Linked DNA regions of Homo sapiens: all the other regions are linked to region 1. The links are contacts of gene promoters, found by promoter capture Hi-C in blood cells and fetal thymus (Javierre and others, 2016). All regions are on one chromosome and are shown on one strand. The core of a region is centred on a gene start or on the middle of the fragment in contact, and the rest is flanking DNA. Distances in the headings are between cores, read along the strand shown.

Evidence for each region. Contacts are between HindIII fragments. The CHiCAGO score rates a contact against its expected background, and 5 or more counts as called.
Region 2: a contact is called between a fragment that was not itself captured here and the fragment with the promoter of NCR3LG1 in region 1, in 2 of 17 cell types (naive CD8 T cells and naive CD4 T cells). The highest score is 7.3, in naive CD8 T cells.
Region 3: a fragment that was not itself captured here is called in contact with the fragment with the promoter of NCR3LG1 in region 1 in 1 of 17 cell types (monocytes); the score reaches 5.6 in monocytes.
Region 4: a fragment that was not itself captured here is called in contact with the fragment with the promoter of NCR3LG1 in region 1 in 1 of 17 cell types (monocytes); the score reaches 6.7 in monocytes.

Annotation. Positions count from the first base shown.
Region 1 is chr11:17,349,863-17,354,604 of GRCh38, reverse strand. It overlaps NCR3LG1 (natural killer cell cytotoxicity receptor 3 ligand 1), which reads right to left and starts at 2,805. Exons shown (of 5, transcript NM_001202439.3): 1 at 2,566-2,805. The coding sequence starts at 2,635. LOC105376576 (a long non-coding RNA gene) reads left to right here and starts at 2,739. Exons shown (of 3, transcript XR_931094.3): 1 at 2,739-2,826; 2 at 3,431-3,568; 3 at 3,694-3,792. It also overlaps a transcript of NUCB2 not described here. RefSeq lists enhancers at 1,390-1,439, 1,664-2,265, 2,266-2,867 and a silencer at 2,864-2,983. The HindIII fragment of the contact is 2,891 bases long and covers 738-3,628 here.
Region 2 is chr11:16,732,239-16,736,980 of GRCh38, reverse strand. It overlaps a transcript of SOX6 not described here. Among named protein-coding and RNA genes, the nearest start is that of C11orf58, 4.0 kb to the left of the region's middle. The HindIII fragment of the contact is 239 bases long and covers 2,192-2,430 here.
Region 3 is chr11:16,777,129-16,781,870 of GRCh38, reverse strand. It overlaps PLEKHA7 (pleckstrin homology domain containing A7), which reads left to right. Exons shown (of 27, transcript NM_001329630.2): 27 at 2,851-4,574. The coding sequence ends at 2,873. Among named protein-coding and RNA genes, the nearest start is that of C11orf58, 41 kb to the right of the region's middle. RefSeq lists enhancers at 1-584, 585-1,279, 1,675-2,397, 2,398-3,121. The HindIII fragment of the contact is 9,770 bases long and covers 1-4,742 here.
Region 4 is chr11:16,801,416-16,806,157 of GRCh38, reverse strand. PLEKHA7 (pleckstrin homology domain containing A7) reads left to right here. Exons shown (of 27, transcript NM_001329630.2): 14 at 2,863-2,931; 15 at 3,106-3,186; 16 at 4,341-4,490. Among named protein-coding and RNA genes, the nearest start is that of C11orf58, 65 kb to the right of the region's middle. RefSeq lists an enhancer at 2,809-4,008. The HindIII fragment of the contact is 4,430 bases long and covers 960-4,742 here.

The DNA.
Region 1 (4,742 bases), core at 1,556-4,055:
TTGTCACTCTTAAAAACGAAAAGTGACTACCAAAAAAAAAAAAAAAAAAAAAAAAAAAAGAAGAAGAATTGGGGGGTCGGAGGGAGAAGGGAAAATATCAAAAACACTAACATGTGCTTAAAAGGAATACAAACCTGAGTGCCAGACTACATAAATTTAGAAGATTTAAATCAACAAATCAAAATTTAGAAGGCAAATTTGGGAAACCTCGTCTATTTTCAGAGCGCCCAAGCGCTCACCCAGGACCTCCATGTATTTTCATTTAAAGGTACAGAGTGTAGTACCTTAACAGCTTAACAGCATTCGCCTTTTTCAAGGACTAGATCCTTGGAATTTTCTGCAGTCTTGTTTCCAAGGAAAAGCATTTATGCATTTATCTTTTCAAATCAACTAGTGGTATAACCTACATAGAGAACCTCCAGTTCTAGAGCTCTCCAACTAGGGAGGACTGTTAACTACAGCTTTACAAATTGCTCTTTTCAACTTCATTTCTGAAATAAAACCTAACGTTCTTTAAAACATTTTCTATATCAACAACCTTTAAAGACATTCTCATACAAAGACGGGCTAGAATCTCTTGCATTAAAATCTGACGAATTCCTTTGTATGACTGGATTTTTTTTTTCTTGTACCACTTTAAATTTGCTTCCACGCAGAATAGCAGCCAGGCAAACAGATGCTCCATCCTAAGGTGTAGGAATTTCTTGTAGGCGGAAATGATTTGTTAGGCGAAAGCTTCCGAAACGGTTTTCCATTTCACAGTCTCTTCCGGTGCCAAAGTCCAGCACCAACGCCTGGTTCTGGGGTCCGACCCTCATGCAGCCGCCGCCGCGCTCCTCGTGGCTGGACGAGCCGGAACTAGCTTCCTCCAGGAGCTGCTGCTGCTGCTGCCGTCACTGGGCGCCGCCGCACAGCCAAACGGCGTTCCTCCCTCTCCGCTTCCCTGAGAACTCGCGGCCCTTCTCCACCACCACCAGCATCCGCGGGGACCGAGACCGGACGAAAGTGGCGGGGACCCAAGGCCCCTGAGGAGGGGGCGCCGGGCCCGGGAGGGGGCGCGGGACGGGCATGGGACCGGGTGGGCGCGGCGGCAGCCCACTGGCGCCACTTCGAGCTCGAGGAGACCCAGACTGATAGAGCGCGGAGGCGTTTCCAGACCGCAGCGACAGGCGTTTCCAGACCGCAGTGACAGGCGTTTCAAGTCCGCAGCGCGGAGACAAGCGCAATTTTGGCTTTCCACTTCACCGCCCACACTTCACTCGGAACTGTCTTATTTTCACATTGCTTATTGCAAATGTATAGAAATACTATTCACTCGTTTTTATTTCCACTTCCCTCTCCCATCGGGCAGCCATTCTAAGGTGTTTAACATGTAATTTTTGTTCTCTTTAAGGCTGTATCTTCTGTTTCTCAAACTGTGGAAATGGTATTGCATTGTATGTCCACTGTTTACTTGGCTCTACGCCTTCAACATCCGTTCACGCTGCTCGGCAAGCAGCAAGGGCGTGGTGTGAAGCTGCCGCCAAGGTCTCCACGGTGAGGTCCACACGCGGCTCTCCTCCACCTGCAGTGACTCGGGGCGCCCAGAGCGCGCCTCCGGGATTCCTACATTCCACCTCCACCACCCGGCACCCAGGAGCGTATTTTGGCCAGCCTAGTAAGGGTCAAGCAGCATCTTGTTGTTTAATTGCCATTCTTCTAGTTAGAAATGAGTTTAAATATCTCTACATACGCGTTTCAGCCTTTTAGTCTCCTGTTTAAGTTAACGCAGAACACGCCCATACGAGTTCCCAAAAAAGCAAGAGAACGTTTGAAGGTCACCACAAGATCAAAACACTCCCCTCCCTCTCTCAGTAAAGACCTAACTTAGCAAAGCCAGGAGGACCCACTGATATGCGGATGAATGATTTTTCCAATTTACCGATTCCCTGATTTTCTTCTCTCCTCCGGCCCCTCGGATGATGCGAGAGAGGCGCCAAATACCGAGGCACCAAACGCGCGACATCCAAGGAAGCACCGTTTCCGCTCTCACAGGTGTCGACCCTGCACAGGGCAGGCCTTCAATGTAAACCTGTTGCATCGGGGACTCCGCTTCTCACAAAGGAGGGACGCTTGAAAATAGAGCCCCCAGGCCGGGCGCGGGGGCTCACGCCTGTAATCCCCGCACTTTGGGAGGCCGAGGCGGCTGGATCACTAGGTCAAGGAGACCATCTTGGCTAACACTGTGAAACCCCGTCTCTACTAAAAGTACAAAAAATTAGCCGGGCATGGTGGCGGGCGCCTGTGGTCCCAGCTACTCGGGAGTCTGAGGCAGGAGAATGGCGTGAACCTGGGAGGCGGAGCTTGCAGTGAGCCGAGATCGCGCCACTTCACTCCAGCCTGGGAGACAGAGCGAGACTCCGTCTCAAAAAAAAAAAAAAAAAAAAAGGAGAAGAAATAGAAAAGAAAATAGAGCTCTCAGCCCCCAGGAAGTTGAGGTCCCCTGGCGGGATGCTAGGGAGCCGACCCGCGAGGACCCTCTGGCGCCAGGAGCCCCCGCCCCAGCCCACCCCAGCCGCCCCCTACCTTCGGTCGTCAGCGCCCACAGCAGAATCAGGAGCGCCGCGCACGTGGAGGCGGCAGCCCTCCACGTCATCGCCGCGGCTGCTGTTGTGTAATTTTTTTCGCCGAGTGGGAGCAGGCGGCCCGGTAGAAACCAAGGGCAGGGGGAGACCTCTGTTGCGTAAAGAGTTGACGGAGACACAGCCGGGATTTCCAGCCGGCGCTTTTGCACATCCCACTTCTTCAGATCCCTTCGGCAACTGCGAAGTCGCCTGGATTTCCCAGGTTCGCACTGCAGGAAGCCAGGCGCGTGACCAGCCCCACCCGCGCCGCACTTTAGCCCGGGGGCGGGCACCGGCCGGGGAATCCTCCCTCGCCTCCGCCCGCGGCACGAGGTTGCGCGGTTACAGCCCCGGTGCCTCTCGCGAGCGGCTCTGCGGTCCAGGACTCGGGGCATCCTCTGGGTTCGCTTAGTAAATTGAGACCGGGATCCAAGTGGCCCGGGGCGCTGCTCTAAGGAAGATGCTGACCGCAGTCGGTGATTGCGAGAGCAGGTGCACGCGTCCAGAGCGACATCTTACCGTTGGCGCGATAAACTTACATTACTTTAAAAACCAAAAACAACAAAAATTTAGCATTAAGTCGAAAGGCAAATTAAATCCCCAGGACAATTCAGTTAAACGCCTGAAGGTGGCCCTTAATTTCCCATTTCTACTAATCAAGAAGTGGCTTGCGACCTCCTGAAGCAAACCCAAATATTCTCATTCGGTGATTAAGTTTTACCACCTCTACACCAGTTTTTAAATCAATTTAACCGCAAAGTTCAGAACCCAAGTGGCACAGTAAATGTGTGTGCATTTATAACGCAGAACCTGCATTCTTTCCCCAGCAACCTGCATTCCATTTGTCTCATTGACCCTACTGCATTTTTCCTTCGCATCATTAAAAAGGATGTAATGTACAGAAAAGCACAGACAGACCTAAACTCCAATGCCAACCATGCCATCTGCTGATTATAAGACAGTGGGTAAGTGACCTCATATCCCCAGCCTGTTCACATGTCTCTAAAACTGAGAGAGTAAAAGCTTCCTTTCCAGGGTTAGAGACACTGTCACTGACTAAGCAAATAGTCACATTCTCACTTATCTGCAGAACAGAGTGCATACAGAAAGAGCTCAGAAGTGAAAGATGCGCAGAGTGCCCACAGTGGCAGCAACTAGCTGAGGGGCCTTCAGATCGCAGCCTTCCGGACCACCGTTATAACAGGTAGAGATATGCAAGGTTAAGTCCAGCTATTGAATTTTTAAAACCTAAATTACACCTCTTCTCAACCTCTGCCTCCTCCAAGGAGCCTTACCTGAGGAGACATCCTTGTCTGGTATTAGTGACATCATTAAATAACATTCCCAATGGAGGTATATGACGACTTCTTATACATGCCCAGAATAGTGATTCACAAAGTTGTGACACATACACATCACCCTGTAGAAATTATCAAATTACTCTTTTGGTAATTTTTACTGTTTTGGTAATTTTTTTGTACCCTTTTTACTCTAAAGGGTAAAACCGGCAGGTTTCTCTATTTATATTTCATTAGAATGAAAAGTCATTACCTGTGTTTTCGTTTTTACCAATATCATGTCTATTTGAACATCTTTTTTTTTTTTTTTTTTTTTTTTTTTTTTTTGGTGAGACAGAGTCTCGTTCTGTTGCCCAGGCTGGAGTGCAGTGGCGTGATCTCAGCTCACTGCAACCTCTGCCTCCCAGGTTCAAGAGATTATTGTGCCTCAGCTTCATCCTCCCAAGTAGCTGGGATTGCAGGTGCCTGCCACCACACCCAGCTAATTTTTGTATTTTTAGTAGAGACAGAGTTTCACCATGTTGGCCAGGCTGGTCTTGAACTCCTGACCTCAAGTGATCCGCCCACCTCGGCCTCCCAAAGTGCTGGGATCACAGGCGTGAGCCACCACACCCGGCCTGAACATGTCTTTTAATACTTTTGCCAACTTTCCATTCAACCCTAAAGCACACAGCAGATACCTCACGATGCTTCTCAAACAAAATAAGCATATATTCTCAGGAATTATTTATGGAAAACTCTGACTTTCTGTGTTCTTTATTGGTGCACAGCATTGAGACACGGTATTCAAATGCTGGTTGACACTGAGGTCATTTTTATGACACATTGCATCCAACTTGCT
Region 2 (4,742 bases), core at 1,062-3,561, 620 kb after region 1:
AGAAAAATAGCATAATAGTAAGTACTATAATAGAAAAAGAGATGTCAGGGTTACATTTTATAAGTATAACCAAACAAAGAACATCTTAATGGTTCTGTGGTAAGAATAAATCATAAAGGAGGAGGAGAGTAAACCCAAGAGAAAAAAAAGAAACATTGTTTTAGGAAGTGGTTGATTGCTTTTTGCTAGAATTAAAATATTTTCACTACTACATAATTCTACTTAGGTTCTATTAGTTACAATGAAATTACATTTAAGTTACAGAGTTTTGCAGTTTCGACTACAGTTCACCTCTAATGGGTTTGACAAATGGTGATTTAGAACTATTAGCTATATTACCAAAACAAATAAGATGGCTGAATAGGTACTTTAGACTGCTAAAAGATTTCTGAAATAAGAAAGGATTGTCAATAAGAATAGTAGTTACTATATAATTTTAATTTTACTAGTTGGTGAAAGTCCAGAAAACTTTAATGAGCTAGCAACATGTCTTTTATTTCTTCACCAGAATTGTTGGCACCTGGATGGTAAATCTTCAAGTTACTGTGAAACAAGATCACAAACGAAAAAGTAACATAGGAAATACTAAAGACTGGGACATTTTATCAGATTTTACTCAGTTTCATATACAGAAGGCTATAGGTAAGGATGAAATTATACAGTGTAATAGAATGCATATATGCCACAGAAACTCAGTAATGCTCCTCTTTCTTGTATTGTAAAAACAAAGATACACTATCATGAGTGAAACAATGAAATACCTCCTTCAGAATTGGGACTGTTGCATCTGCATTTTTGTTTCTGGCGCAATGCCTGCCACACGGTAGTTAATAAATGTTTCTGAATTAATATAGGAAGGATGAAATTATATAGTACCAGAGTGGTATCTTATATGAGGCCTAGAAACTCAGCAATGTTCTTCTTTCTTGGGTAGTAAAGACAAGGAGAGGAGGCCCTGTCACTGAGAACTTTACATTTTTTTAAATTTTCCCAACATTTAGCATGTAGTGGGCAGTCACAGATGTTTGTCGAGTACGTGCTCTCAACCAGGGATAGTCATGATTGACCATAGTTAAAACTGAAGAGGAAATAAAGGCTTTGAAGATTATGCTGTGTACAAAAAATCTGCTGTTTCACTTGAGACTAAAAAAAAAAATTCCTAGGGCCTTAATTACAGTTACCATTTATTAAATACCCACCATGTACCATATACTTTGCTAGGTGCTTTTTATAGGTGATTTTTACAATTGACCTCAAAGTTTCACAATAATTTGCAAGAAGTAGGGAATTTTATAGGTAATTAAACTTAAGAAAAGTTAAATACTTGCTTAAAATAATGTAGCTAGTGAATGATTCAGTCCTTAAGTCTAATTCCAAAAGCCAGTGCACTTTCCACTGTGCCAATATAACCCAACATTAAATAAGATGCTTCATATATGTCAGGAAGTGTGCCAAGTTTGAGGAAAACCAGAGTGAATAATGCATAATCCTTTACTGCAAAGAGTTTACAGCTTGGCAGGAGAATGATTAAATGGCATCAGTAAATTACAAATAAAATGCTGTAGAACAGTTCATTTTGGCTGAGGGAAATTGGAAAATTATTTCCCAAAAGTTTTTGAGCTAGGCCTTGAAAAAACAGTTTGGGCAGGATGGGGCATATATTCAGTGATGGTTAGTGTCCAGTGTGCTGAAACCTGATAAGCCTAAAAGTATTGTATTCTGAGACAAAATTCTATAGGCTGATCAAAGCCGGGCTGTGAAAAGCCTTGAGTTTAACTCTCTCACTATATGGGTTCAGATTAAGATAATCTCTTCCATAGATCTGTGTGACCTGTTTTCTAATACTTCTCCATTTAAATTCATTTTATGCATTCTAGGCAGATTCAGCCTCTGAAAATGGAATGTAGAGATTCTACTGCTCAAAAACTTCTTGGAGCTCCCCATTTTATACAGAATTAAGTTGATAGAATTAAGCCTATAATTAAAATAAGAATTCAGTTCTTGAGGTCAGAATAAGGTCGATATTCTGATCTCAATAATCCATTCCAGTCTTATTTTCTACTATTATCTTTAACTTATCTTGATTAGCCCACCACAACAAAAATAAGTGCTATAATAAAGGTATTGAACAAAGATACTAGTCTTGTTGACTGTTCTAGACTCTCAGCTGCTTTTGGGTAGGATCTAAGCTTAGCACCATGACATATAAACTATCACTCAATAGATATTTGTTGTTTTAATATATGAATCGGTGAGGTTAGAGAGGAGCAAGTTTATGTGGTAGGATGACTTTGATTTTAGACATGTTAAAGTATTAGTAGGACACCAAGTGGAACTGTTAAAAATATGGGCTTCAAAGTTAGGAGAGAGCAATAAACTTAGAAATCACCCATCTAGAGGTGGTGGGTCAACAAGGAGAGTAACTAAGCTTACCTAGTGAGTGCCTAGAAGAGAGATACTTGGAAAAGAACAAGAAGGAGAAGATTTAAGGATAGAATGAGGAAGAAGAGCCTGAGGTTAGAAGGTAGACATAGAACTAGAAGAAGGAGAGGTTAGTGTCATTGAAGCAAAGGGAAAAAATGTGAAAAATGCATTATTCCACTGTGGTGGACTATGAGATGAAGCCCATTTAGAAGCTGATTTTAAAGGCATAATATAAATGCAACTCTAGGGTCTAACACAGAATCTTGAAAACAAGGTATAAATAAATACATATTTGTGGTTGATGATGGTTGATGATTGGGTAACTCCCATTCTGTCCATTGGGCAGGCAGATTTGTCAGAGTGCTACTGTGATTTAAAATGTGGCACTATAAATATTAACTTGATTATTTTACACATACCTAGGAACTTAAATGAAAAAGGAATGAAAAGGGAAATGAAAAATGTATTGCTTAAAATTGCTTCAATAAAATTGTTGTTGATGTATATCTTCTTTTTTTTTTTTTTTTTTTGAGACAAAGTCTCGCTCTGTCACCCAGGCTAGAGTGCAGTGGCACGATCTTGGGTCACTGCAGGCTCTGCCTTCCAGGTTCATGCCATTCTCCTGCCTCAGCCTCCTGAGTAGCTGGGACTACAGGTGCCTGCCACCATGCCCGGCTAATTTTTTTGTATTTTTAGTAGAGATGGGGTTTCACCGTATTATCCAGGATGGTCTCGCTCTCCTGACCCTGTGATCCACCCGCCTCGGCCTCCCAAAGTGCTGGGATTACAGACGTGAGCCACCGTGCCTGGCCCTTTTTTTTTTTTTTTTTTTTATACTTTAAGTTCTGGGATACATGTGCAGAACATGAAGGTTTGTTACATAGGTATATACGTGCCATGATGGTTTGCTGCACCCATCAACCCATCATCTGCATTAGGTATTTCTCATAATGCTATCCCTCCCCTAGCCCCCCACCCCCAACAGGCCCCGGTATGTGATATTCCCCTCCCTGTGTCCATGTGTTCTCATTGTTCAACTGCCGCTTATGAGTGGGAACATGTCGTGTTTGGTTTTTCTATTCTTGTGATGGTTTGCTGAGACTCATGGTTTCCAGCTTTATCCATGTCCCTGCAAAGGACCTGAACTCATCCTTTTTTATGACTGCATAGTATTCCATGGTGTATATGTGCCACATTTTCTTTATCCAGTCTATCATTGATGGGTATTTGGGTTGGTTCCAAGTCTTTGCTATTGTGAACAGTGCTCCAATAAACATACATGTGCATCTGTCTTTAAAGTACAATGATTTATAATCCTTTGGGTGTATACCCAGTAATGGGATTTCTGGGCCAAATGGCATTTCTTGTTCTAGATCCTTGAGGAATTGTCACACTGTCTTCCACAATGGTTGAACTAATTCACATTCTCACCAACAGTGTAAAAGCGTTCCTATTTCTCCACATTCTATCCAGCATCTGTTGTTTCTTGACTTTTTAATGATTGCCCTTCTAACTGGTGTGAGATGATTGTAGTTTTGATTTGCATTTCTCTAATGACTAGTGATGGTGAGCTTTTTCTCATGTTTGTTGGCTGCATAAGTGTCTTCTTTTGAGAAGTGTCTGTTCATATCCTTCACCCACTTTTTGATGGGGTTGTTTTTTTCTTGTAAATTTGTTTTAAGTTCTGTGCAGATTCTGGATATTAGCACTTTGTCAGATGGATAGATTGCAAAAATTTTTCTCCCATTCTGTAGGTTGCCTGTTCACTGCAATGATAGTTTCTTTTGCTGTGCAGAAGCTCTTTAGTTTAATTAGATCCTATTTGTCAGTTTTGGCTTTTGTTGCCATTGTTTTTGGTGTTTTAGTCATTAAGTCTTTGCCTGTGCTTATGTTCTGTATGGTATTGCCTAGGTTTTCATCTAGGGTTTTTATGGTTTTAGGTCTTACATGTAAGTCTTTAATCCACCTTGAGTTAATTTTTGTATAAAGTGTAAGGAAGGGGTCCAGTTTCAGTTTTCTGCATGTGGCTAGCCAGTTTTCCCAAAGCCATTTAGTAAATAAGGAATCCTTTCCCCGTTGCTTGTTTGTGTCAGGTTCGTCAAAGATCAGATAGTTGTAGATGTGTGATATTATTTCAGAAGCCTCTGTTCTGTTCTGTTGGTCTATATGTCTGTTTTGGTACCAGTACCATGCTGTTTTGGTTACTGTAGCCTTGTAGCTTAGTTTGAAGTGAGGTATTGTGATGCCTCCAGCTTTGTTCTTTTTGCTTAGGATTGTCTGGGGTATATGGGCTCTTTTTTGTTTCCATATGAAACGAA
Region 3 (4,742 bases), core at 887-3,386, 570 kb after region 1:
GAAGTGGTGTCATGGCCCCTACCAATTCTCCAACCCTGGCCAAAGTGTCTAGAAGTAGCCAAGGATGTGGCCGGCAGGGTCCTCAGATGCCTGGGCCTGGGGAGTCTTGTCTGGAGATCAGAGCTTTGCTGTGGCCCCAGAGGGCCATGAGAGTGACTGGCAACAAGGGGAGGGGCCATAGTCTTAGTCAAAACCTGTTCTCTGTCCCCCACAGCCTGATCCTGCACAGAGTCCTTGAAATCTTGGCTGTCCTCTGTCCCTTCGAGCACATGCTGAATGGGCTGAGAGGTGGCCGGTGTGGTGTTCTGGGATTAGGGATGCAGGAGATGGCTCATCCAGACCTCTCCTTCTCATGACCCAGGGGTTCATCTTAGCAGCTTTTGAGCTTCTCCTGGGGAGGGTTCGAGCAGGGGCGGCTCCCCCACCATACCATGCCCTCCTCTCGCCTTGCTTGCTCTAACCCTGAGGGGGTCTGCCATCCTCGGCCTCCTTATTGCCAGCAGATGAGCGCTCCCAGCCCTAACATGCTGCGGCCAGTTCCCAGGGCCTTTCTTCCTCCCTACTCAGGGATGATCTTTGCTGCGGCCTTTCCTCACTCTTGATGCCTCTCTCCATCTCAGAAACATATCCAGGAACTGCAGCCTGACCCATCCGGTTCCCCACCAGGCCCCGTGGATCTGTCCCTCACCCTCAAGCCCAGGCCCTTCGTGGTGGGCAGCAGGGCCCATGCCACCCCAGCCTGCCAAATGGGGCATCTGGTGCTGCAGGAGCTGATGAGGAGTCTAACACACCGCTTAATTCCTGTGTGCCCCATCTAGCACAGCAGCTGGCCCTCCTCCCGCCTAAAGGCCCCCTGTCTTCCAGGACGGTGCCACCTTACCCCCCTTTTACCAACGGACTCCACTACACCTTTGTCTAACACCTTCCAAGTAAGAGCCCCTGTCTGGTGTGCTTCTGCCTGCTTCCTGCACCTCCCTAGCGCTGAGCCCCTCACCTCCCTGCTGTGCTGAGGTGATTGCAGTGCCACCTGCTGATGCCTCCTTCCACTGGCAAAGCGGCCGCTGGCGGGACTGTTCTGACTGGTAGGCAGGTGGGAAAGTGATGCTTTTTAGGAACTCAATCCTCAGTGGCTCTAATACGATAGGGACTGAGCAATCCACCCTGCTGCCTCCATGAAATCTCTAGAACCGGAACTGTGCCCCCATCCCCTGCTCTCCTCAGTAGGGCACCCTGATGCCCGAGAACCAGTGCAGACCACACTGCCAGCCTTGGGGGGCTGGAAAGGAAGAGTTAGATCTTGGCCTTTCAGGGCTTTGGCCAAAGAAATTGAAGAACTGTAAGATTGGGAAAAGTCCAGTTCTACAGATGAGGAAACTGAGGCCCAGTGAGGGGCTGGGGCTCACTCCAGGTCACAAAGAATTGGTGTCAGCGCAGAGACTGGGACTGCCCTTTTGGTCACTGGGCACTTTAAGAGGGAGAGAAAGGGAAGCCCAGGGCAATGTGAAATTGGCCCTCAGCCAGGCAGAAAGCTCTGGCACCAACCCTACCAAGTTCTCCCCATGTGGGCATCTAGTGATGAGAGGCAGTGTGGGATGAGGAGGGAGCCCTGAAACAGGAGGCTGGCATCTGGTCCAGTCTCAAGTGAGTTCTTGGCCTGGGCCTGTTGCTTTTGAGCCCAGCGGTTCACCTGGACAGGGGAAGGTCAGACTACCAGTCTGGGCAGTCCTTACCCTGACATCCCATCCCACTATCATTTTGCAGGGCTTTCCCCTCTCCTTCCTTTACGTATACTTGTGGTTAACATTGTTGAGTGCCTGCTGTGTGCCAGGCATTGTGCTAAGTATCTCTTTCGATCCACACAACAACCCTATGAAGATATTCCCCCCCCCCTCCCCGTTTTAGAGATGAAAAAACAAAAGCTCAGAGGCCTTGAGGGATATGCGCAAGGAATCGCAGCTTGTTAAGTGCTGGGGTTTGAACCCCTTTGATGTGAGTTCAGAGCCTTTGTTCCCCATCACCACTCATGGGTTCATCTGGGCCGCCCCGAGCAGCTCTAGGTGTTTGGAGAAAGAAGTGAAAGGAGGGAGAGAGTATTTGTGCTGCAGGGAGCGAAGCATGATTTTTTGGCAGGTGTCTATCCTGGGTGCTCCCCGTGCCTCACAGCAGAGTCAGCAGGTCCCCGCCAGCCTGAGCATGAGAGGAAGAGGTCAGCCTCCTTGGGCCAGGCTCTGAGGAGGTGTGGAGTAGAGGCCCCGTGGTTGAGGAGCCATAGGGAAGTGCTCTAGCCACGCCCATTGTGAAGGCCACATTTGAGGGTGTGGCTTTCTCCTAGAGATCTGAGCACAGTAACAGCGCTCAGTCACAGAGAGGCAGGAGAGAGGTTCTGTTCCTCCTGGGTTTTGGTGCCCCCATGGCTGTAAGATTGGCCTATTATACTCTTTGGAGTACTGCATTTCTTCTTACTCTCAAAGCATCCTTGTTAAGAAGTGGGTATGACCACCATGTTTTTTAGGTTAGAAAAACAAGGCCCACAGAGGCCAAGAGCGCTACCCACATTGAAAGAATGAAGGGCAGGGCCAGACTGCACCTTTATTAGAGTCTTTGCCCTGTCGGGATGGGGACCCAATTTAGGGGCCAGCATGTGTCTAGCAGTGGAATAGGGGTGCAGGGAGGGTGGGGCAAGAGCCCCATGTGTCCTGGAAGCTGAGGGTCCCCCAGCAGCGGCCGCATTGCCAGAGCCCCCTGCTCTGCTGCTCTGCCTGTCCGCCTATCTGCCATTCCATCATGTGTGTGCAGACGTGCCTGCTCCCTGGATGCCAGCCTCTCACTGTCTCCTGTGCTTTTTGCCAGCCCAGGCAGTGACTGACCCGTGACCCAGCATGCAAAGAAGCCTGGAGCCAGGGGCCCAGTGGAACCAGCTTCCTCCAAGGAGATGACCTTTCTGCCCCCAAGGAAACCCCTTCCAGCTGAGCAGGGAATCCGGCCGGAGGAAGGAGCAGCTTACCGACTGCGGGTGTTCACCACAGGCCAGGCCCTAATATGCACCCACTAGTTTAGCTCAGACTCCTCTCTACATATGAATGGCAAAGGCACTTTTGATATACACTGTAAAATACACTGTATTTTAGAATCGGAATCTATTTTCTAATGTTCCCCTCAAGGGCTGAGTGGCAGGAAGGTTGAGGATGCAGGACTTTGCAGCTGCACGTACAGATTCAGGTACTTCTGGGTGACAGGTGTTGTGGGGGCAGGAAGGGCGGGGCAAGCCGAGGCTAGTCCAACTTCCAATGACCTCAGGAGAAAGTGAGATTTAAAGAGGTGTTCCCAGTAGACTCCAGCAAGAGGCTGGTTGGCGTGCTGTCTGGGAGAAGAGGGGCCCTTGGCTGCAGAGATCAGCTGTCCCTGACCTGATGACCAGCTCTGTGTGAAACTCCACGAGGATCACACGTGGAGCCCAAGTCTGTGCCTTGCCCCTTGGGTTTGGCTTAGGGGCAACAGTGTGTTCAAGAGGACTGGGGCCCACAACCTGCCCCCAGGCTTCCTCCAGCAAAAGGCTCTTGTCAGAAAGAAAAAAGCAGTTTGCTATCTTTTTTTTTTTTTGAGATGGAGTTTCACTCTTGTTGCCCAGGCTGGAGTGCAATGGCACGATCTCGGTTCACTGCAACCTCTGCCTCCTGGGTTCAAGTGATTCTCCTGCCTCAGCCTCCCAAGTAGCTAGGATTACAGGCATGTGCCACCACGCCCGGCTAATTTTGTATTTTTAGTAGAGACGGGGGTTTCTTCATGTTGGTGAGGTTGGTCTCGAACTCCTGACCTCAGGTGATTCATCCGCTTCAGCATCCCAAAGTGTTGGGATTACAGCCGTGAGCCACCACGCCCAGCCTGCTTTCATTTTTAACAGTACACATTGAAATACAGAAAAGGTGAGAGGAAGCAACTTTCATTGTATCGTAGCAATAAACTCCACACTGGGTGACATCTACCTAGAAATCCCTTCCCTCTAACCAGGCCATGATGGGAACCTTTGCTGCCTGCCCTTGGAGAACCCCGGATTGGCTTCCCTGGGACTCAGGTCTGGTGGCAGGAGGGCAGCAGTGTGCCCCCACCATCCCTCATGGCCTGCCGCCAGCAGGGCCATAATGGCAGGACTTTGATTTGACTTCCAGCCCCACATGAGGAGGGGGGCTACCAAGCCAGGTGCAGTGTTTGTGGCCCTTTATTTAAGTTGTTTTCTTATATTATTCTGCATATAAACAATGACGTTTAAATGGAAAAAACAACAACAACGAAAACCTCCATTGGGTGGAGCCACACTTTAAATGAAAATTTCTCTTTGACTATGCTCAGAAAAAAAAATAGAATTTTGAATATATCTAGCAGTTGTTGTCTATTTTTAACTAACTCCATATGCTGCCAGTATCGACTTCATGACATTTGCCAAAATAAAATTTTATTTTTGCCTTTATAAGATTTTCTTGGAAAAAATGAAATGAATATTTTGCAAGAAAAAGTTAATTTAAAAATGTAATGGTTTGCAAAAAAAATGTGATGTACAGATTAAAATATTAACCTGATACGTTTCCTGTTTCTTGCTGGCTATAGTCTCTGGTGAGTGGCCTGTGTACGTTTGTTTCCATTTCTTTGGAAAATCCCCACTGTCAGCTCTCGGCCCTGCTTCTATTTACCTATGAAAAGTTTCTTCTGGTGACGATTCCTTGACATTTGATTGACTGTAGAGGCCT
Region 4 (4,742 bases), core at 1,925-4,424, 550 kb after region 1:
TGATACATTCATGAACTCACTGAGCAAACATTGCCCGAATTTCTTCAATATGCTAGGCCCTGGCTGGGCTTTGAGGATACAGAGGAAAGGCATCCATCTCCACAGTCACCCCTAATTAGGTTACTCTCTAGTGAGGAGAGACAAATGAGCAAACGGAACATTGTACTCTAATGTGCTGGGTGCTGTAGTAGCAGCAGATGCAACGTGTGGAAAGAGCACCCTGAAGGGCATCACCCCCAGTTAAAGGGAGAGAAGAGATGTAAGTACCTCGTGTCAGTCGAGCTTATAGTCCTTTGAATTCCTAACCTACAACACCTAGTAAGCAGCAGTTTTTTTTGTTTTTGTTTTTGTTTTTTTTTTTTTTTTTTGACATGGAGTCTCGCTCTGTCACCCAGGCTGGAGTGCAGTGGCGCAATCTCAACTCACTGCAACCTCTGCCTCCCAGGTTCAAGAGATTCTCCTGCCTCAACCTCCCGAGTAGCTGGGACTACAGGTGCGCGGCACTGTGCCTGGCTAATTTTTGTATTTTTAGTAGAGATGGGGTTTCACCATGTTGGCCAGACTGATCTTGAACTCCTGACCTCATAATTCACCCGCCTTGGCCTCCCAAAGTGCTGGGATTACAGGTGTGAGCCACCGTGCCTGGCAAGATAAGCAGCACTTTAAAAAGGGACAAGAGAAATCTACTTCTTAGAAAAAGAGGTAGTACTAATATCCTGAGAGAGAGAAAAAAAAGGTTGAATGTATATTCAGTATTCCATGAAGGCAGCAAAGGGCATACTTTTAGAAAGCTTTCCATCAAAAAGTATAATTTAGAGGATTCAGCTTCTTCTCAAAATGTCCTTTTTATATAAAATATCTCATTCTTTTCCTGATGGTGCTGGATAAATGAGGCATTGCTCAATTAGATTTTCTGGCTTGTTATTTAAGTATCAAAAAGACATCCTCTGTAAAAAGCTTCAGTGAAATAAGGGGAAGAGTTTTGCTGGGGGAAAGAATCCCCAGAGTGTATCTCCATTTGAAAATGATTTCTACCTAGAAAATGAGCCCCAAAGGTCAGCCGGTTTGGAGAATAGACAACCTCCTTGTTCTTGGCTTTGATGAAAGGACGATGGCATAGAGCGAAGACTTCACTGCTTTCACCTGCTTTTTCTCCTGGGTTCCCCTGAGTTTAAAACCCACATTCTGCCTGAGAAGTTCAGCTGTTTGTGATTCACCAGGATTAACTTCATGCCCACCTCCCCACACCTCCCTGCACCGCCCCCCCCGCATTGCAGGAGACAGCACAGTCTGTTTGTTTGTGGATTGTTGCAGTCTTGTGTTCTGCAACTGTGTGTATACGTGTATGTACACATAATCTGACAGTCTGAAGAGCAGAATTTGGCTGGAGTTCTATTTTTTCCGGGAACTCAACAACACTGACCTACATGTGTTTCCCTTTGACCTACATGCAATGCAATTCAATAAGCATTTGCTGAGTTTGTGCCAGGTCTTCTGTTCAGGGCTGACTTTACCAAGATAAAACAATGGTTCCGTCCTCTTCTGTGTGACCAAAGGGATCGTGGGAATGGGTGGGGCATGTGTGTAGCCCAGAATCAGTCCTCACTCCAAGGCAGGGAGAGGTCCTCTCCCTTGACCTTTGGATTTGCTCATGACAGTTTGCAGGGAGAGGTAGCATAGGACAGTTGGGCACATGAAGGGCTTGAGCACTGAGTGGAATGTTTGCCAATTTATTTCCACCCCCAATCCACACTGACAAACTTCCTGGACCTTACAGATAGAATGGGGAGAAATCTACACCTCTCTCTCCAGCAGCTATCGGTCCACATTGGGACCTCTCTGCATAGCACACACACACCACCTGTCTCTGCCACTGTTAGCTCCACCCTCCATTTTCCTGGTCAGATCTGCAAAATAGAGCTCAGTGAGGTGGTTTCCCCTACATTAGGCAAAATAGACTTGGTTCTCCCTGGCCTTATCTTGGCCATGGGAGGGTGCATCTGTGAAAGTCACTCCCCTCAGCCCCTGCATGACTTTTGGCAAGAAAGAAATTGGGGGAAATGGAAAAATGGGATAAGTAAGATTTAGATTCTCAGGAGTCAGTGAGAGACAGGCAGCATATTGCCTACTTTGAGTCAAGTGAGGGATGGGAAATGTAAAATCCCATTGGCCCGCAAGTTTGGGTGACTTTTGTATATTGCTTTATGGTTTCCTTTCTTGTAACTTACACAAGTACAGCCTAGCCTCAGTTATTCAGGGAACAATTAAAAACCCTTGCTGGGAACTAGCCAGGTTCCTTTTTACCTTGGCCAGGTCTTCTTCCCAAATGGTAAAGGGTAAGGAAGGCTGGCCTTACCCACGGGGAAGTGGGCTGCTCAGAGACTTCATTAAACTAAGGCTTGACAATGGTCAAGGGATTTGTTTGTTCCTCTGGGTCTGCCCATCTCACCACCCTGGGCAGGGGGTGATGGGCTTCGTAACTTGTGTTTGTTCCCACGTTCAGTAGTACACCTCTGTCTTATCGGTGGCAAATCTTCCAAGATTCATGCTGATTTTTCACATTCATTTTAGGCAAATATATACTTTTAAAATTGATGATCCTTTAACTTGAACATCTACATTTTCTTTAACTCAAAGGACTTACCAGCATTACTAGAATCATCAAAAGGTTTTGGTTTTTTCCTAAAATGAAATAGGCATAGAAATAGCGAAGTATGGCCCAAGTTTTTGTCCCTCTCATACTATGACCCTACCTGCCACTGCCAAGGACTTCCACACCATCCATTATAGGATGAATTTTCTTTCCTGAGTTCTGATCTCAAACACCATGGTTAAATCTCTTTTAAATTGTTCGCCTCCCAGATGACAGGCCGGGACCTTCTCAAGGATCGAAGTCTGAAGCCTGTGAAGATCGCTGAGAGCGACACTGACGTGAGTGAGCAGAGTGACACGCTGACCCCTCAGCTGCCTCCTGACCCAGACCCCGGGTGAACAGCTTCAGGCAGGGCTTGGATGGTTCTGTAGCCAAAGGCTGTCTGATTGCAATCCCAAGGTCATGTCCTTTTCTCATCACCCCAGGCCCTCTCCACCTGTTCTTGCTTTTAGGTCAAACTGAGCATCTTCTGTGAACAAGACAGGGTCCTCCAGGACTTGGAAGACAAGATACGAGCCCTTAAAGAGAACAAAGTACGTGTCAGTTTTGAATAATCTTGGAATGGGCAGAGGGACATTTTGTCCTGTCTTTCTTGAGACATAGGCTGGACCCTCATGTTAGTATTGAAGAGCAGATGTTAGCTTATTTAAAAAAAAATGCACCAGGTGCGGTGGCTCATGCCTGTAATCTCAGCACTTTGGAAGGCCAAGGCAGGTGGATCATGAGGTCAGGAGTTCGAGACCAGCCTGACCAACATGGTGAAACCCTGTCTCCACTAAAAATACAAAAATTAGCTGGGCATGGTGGTGGGCACCTGTAATCCCAGCTACTCAGGAGGCTGAGGCAGAAGAATTGCTTGAACCCGGGAGGCAGAGGTTGCAGTGAGCCGAGATCACGCCACTGTATTCCAGCCTAGGCAACAGAGGAAGACTTCGTCTCAGGAGGAAAAAAAAAAAAGCCTTTGTGTTTAAATGGTGTTTCTTAGGGGTTTCTATCTTATAGAGACCCTCCTGCCCCCATTCTGCTTTGGCTTACCTCTCCGTGGAGGCCCTGTGAGGTGAGCCTGGGAGAGGAGCTCCACTGGCTTATATGTGATGACCCCAGGTCCCTGAACCCCAGGGAAGCAGGGTTCCTTTGGAGGAAGTGGCTGTAGTCATTACAGGGCAGAGGCCTTTGCTTCCTAAAGCTCCTTGTCTCCTAGGATCTGGGCTATGGAGGCAGCAAGTCTGGATGGGAGTGCCGGAATGGGCCAGGGGCCACCAACATTTGGCCTTTTCTATTCTTAAAGTATTTTTTTCCTTTTGCATTTTAAATTCGTGATGCTGGAGGTTGACAATATACTCTTTTCCCTAGGAGGCTAAAGAGGTTTTTGTTTTTTGTTTTTTTAATTCTTTGATTTATCCTCTTAGCTTAGTTTATTCTCTTAGTTTATCCCATAAGGAGTTAGACAGCTGTATCCCTAGTTTATAGATGACAAAATTGAGGCACAGAGCTGTTAGGTACTTTCCCCAGCCTACTCCCTAGACAGAGTCAGAGCTGGCATCAGAGCCCCGACTGTGGGCCCACATCTCAGCGCTGATCCCTTCGGCCTTGGTTAGGTCCAGTAGCTTTGGTTCCTGGTGTGGTATGGGGAGGCCTCTGGGGACTGTCCTCCTATCCTGCTGTTTTTTGGCCCTTCGTGGTGCAGGACCAGCTAGAATCTGTGCTGGAGGTGTTGCACAGACAGATGGAGCAGTACCGAGACCAGCCCCAGCACTTGGAGAAGATTGCCTACCAGCAGAAGTTGCTGCAGGAGGACCTTGTCCATATCCGAGCTGAGCTCTCCAGAGAGTCCACTGTGCGTAGAGGGTGGCAGACCTGTCTCCCTCAGGACGGGCTGAGCAAGGGGCTGCTTTTCTCCCCTCCCAAGATGTAGTTGAGTTGGTGTCCAGAGGCAAGAGTCCTGAAATAGCAGAGCTTCTCCAGTAGCAGAACTGCCACCTGACAGTAGATAACCTTGTCTGGGGGTGACATGTCTGCCTGCACGTGTGCCTTAGGCTGCTTACCACAGCGACTCTTGAAGGCCAGTGACACCCAGTGGGCCAGATTC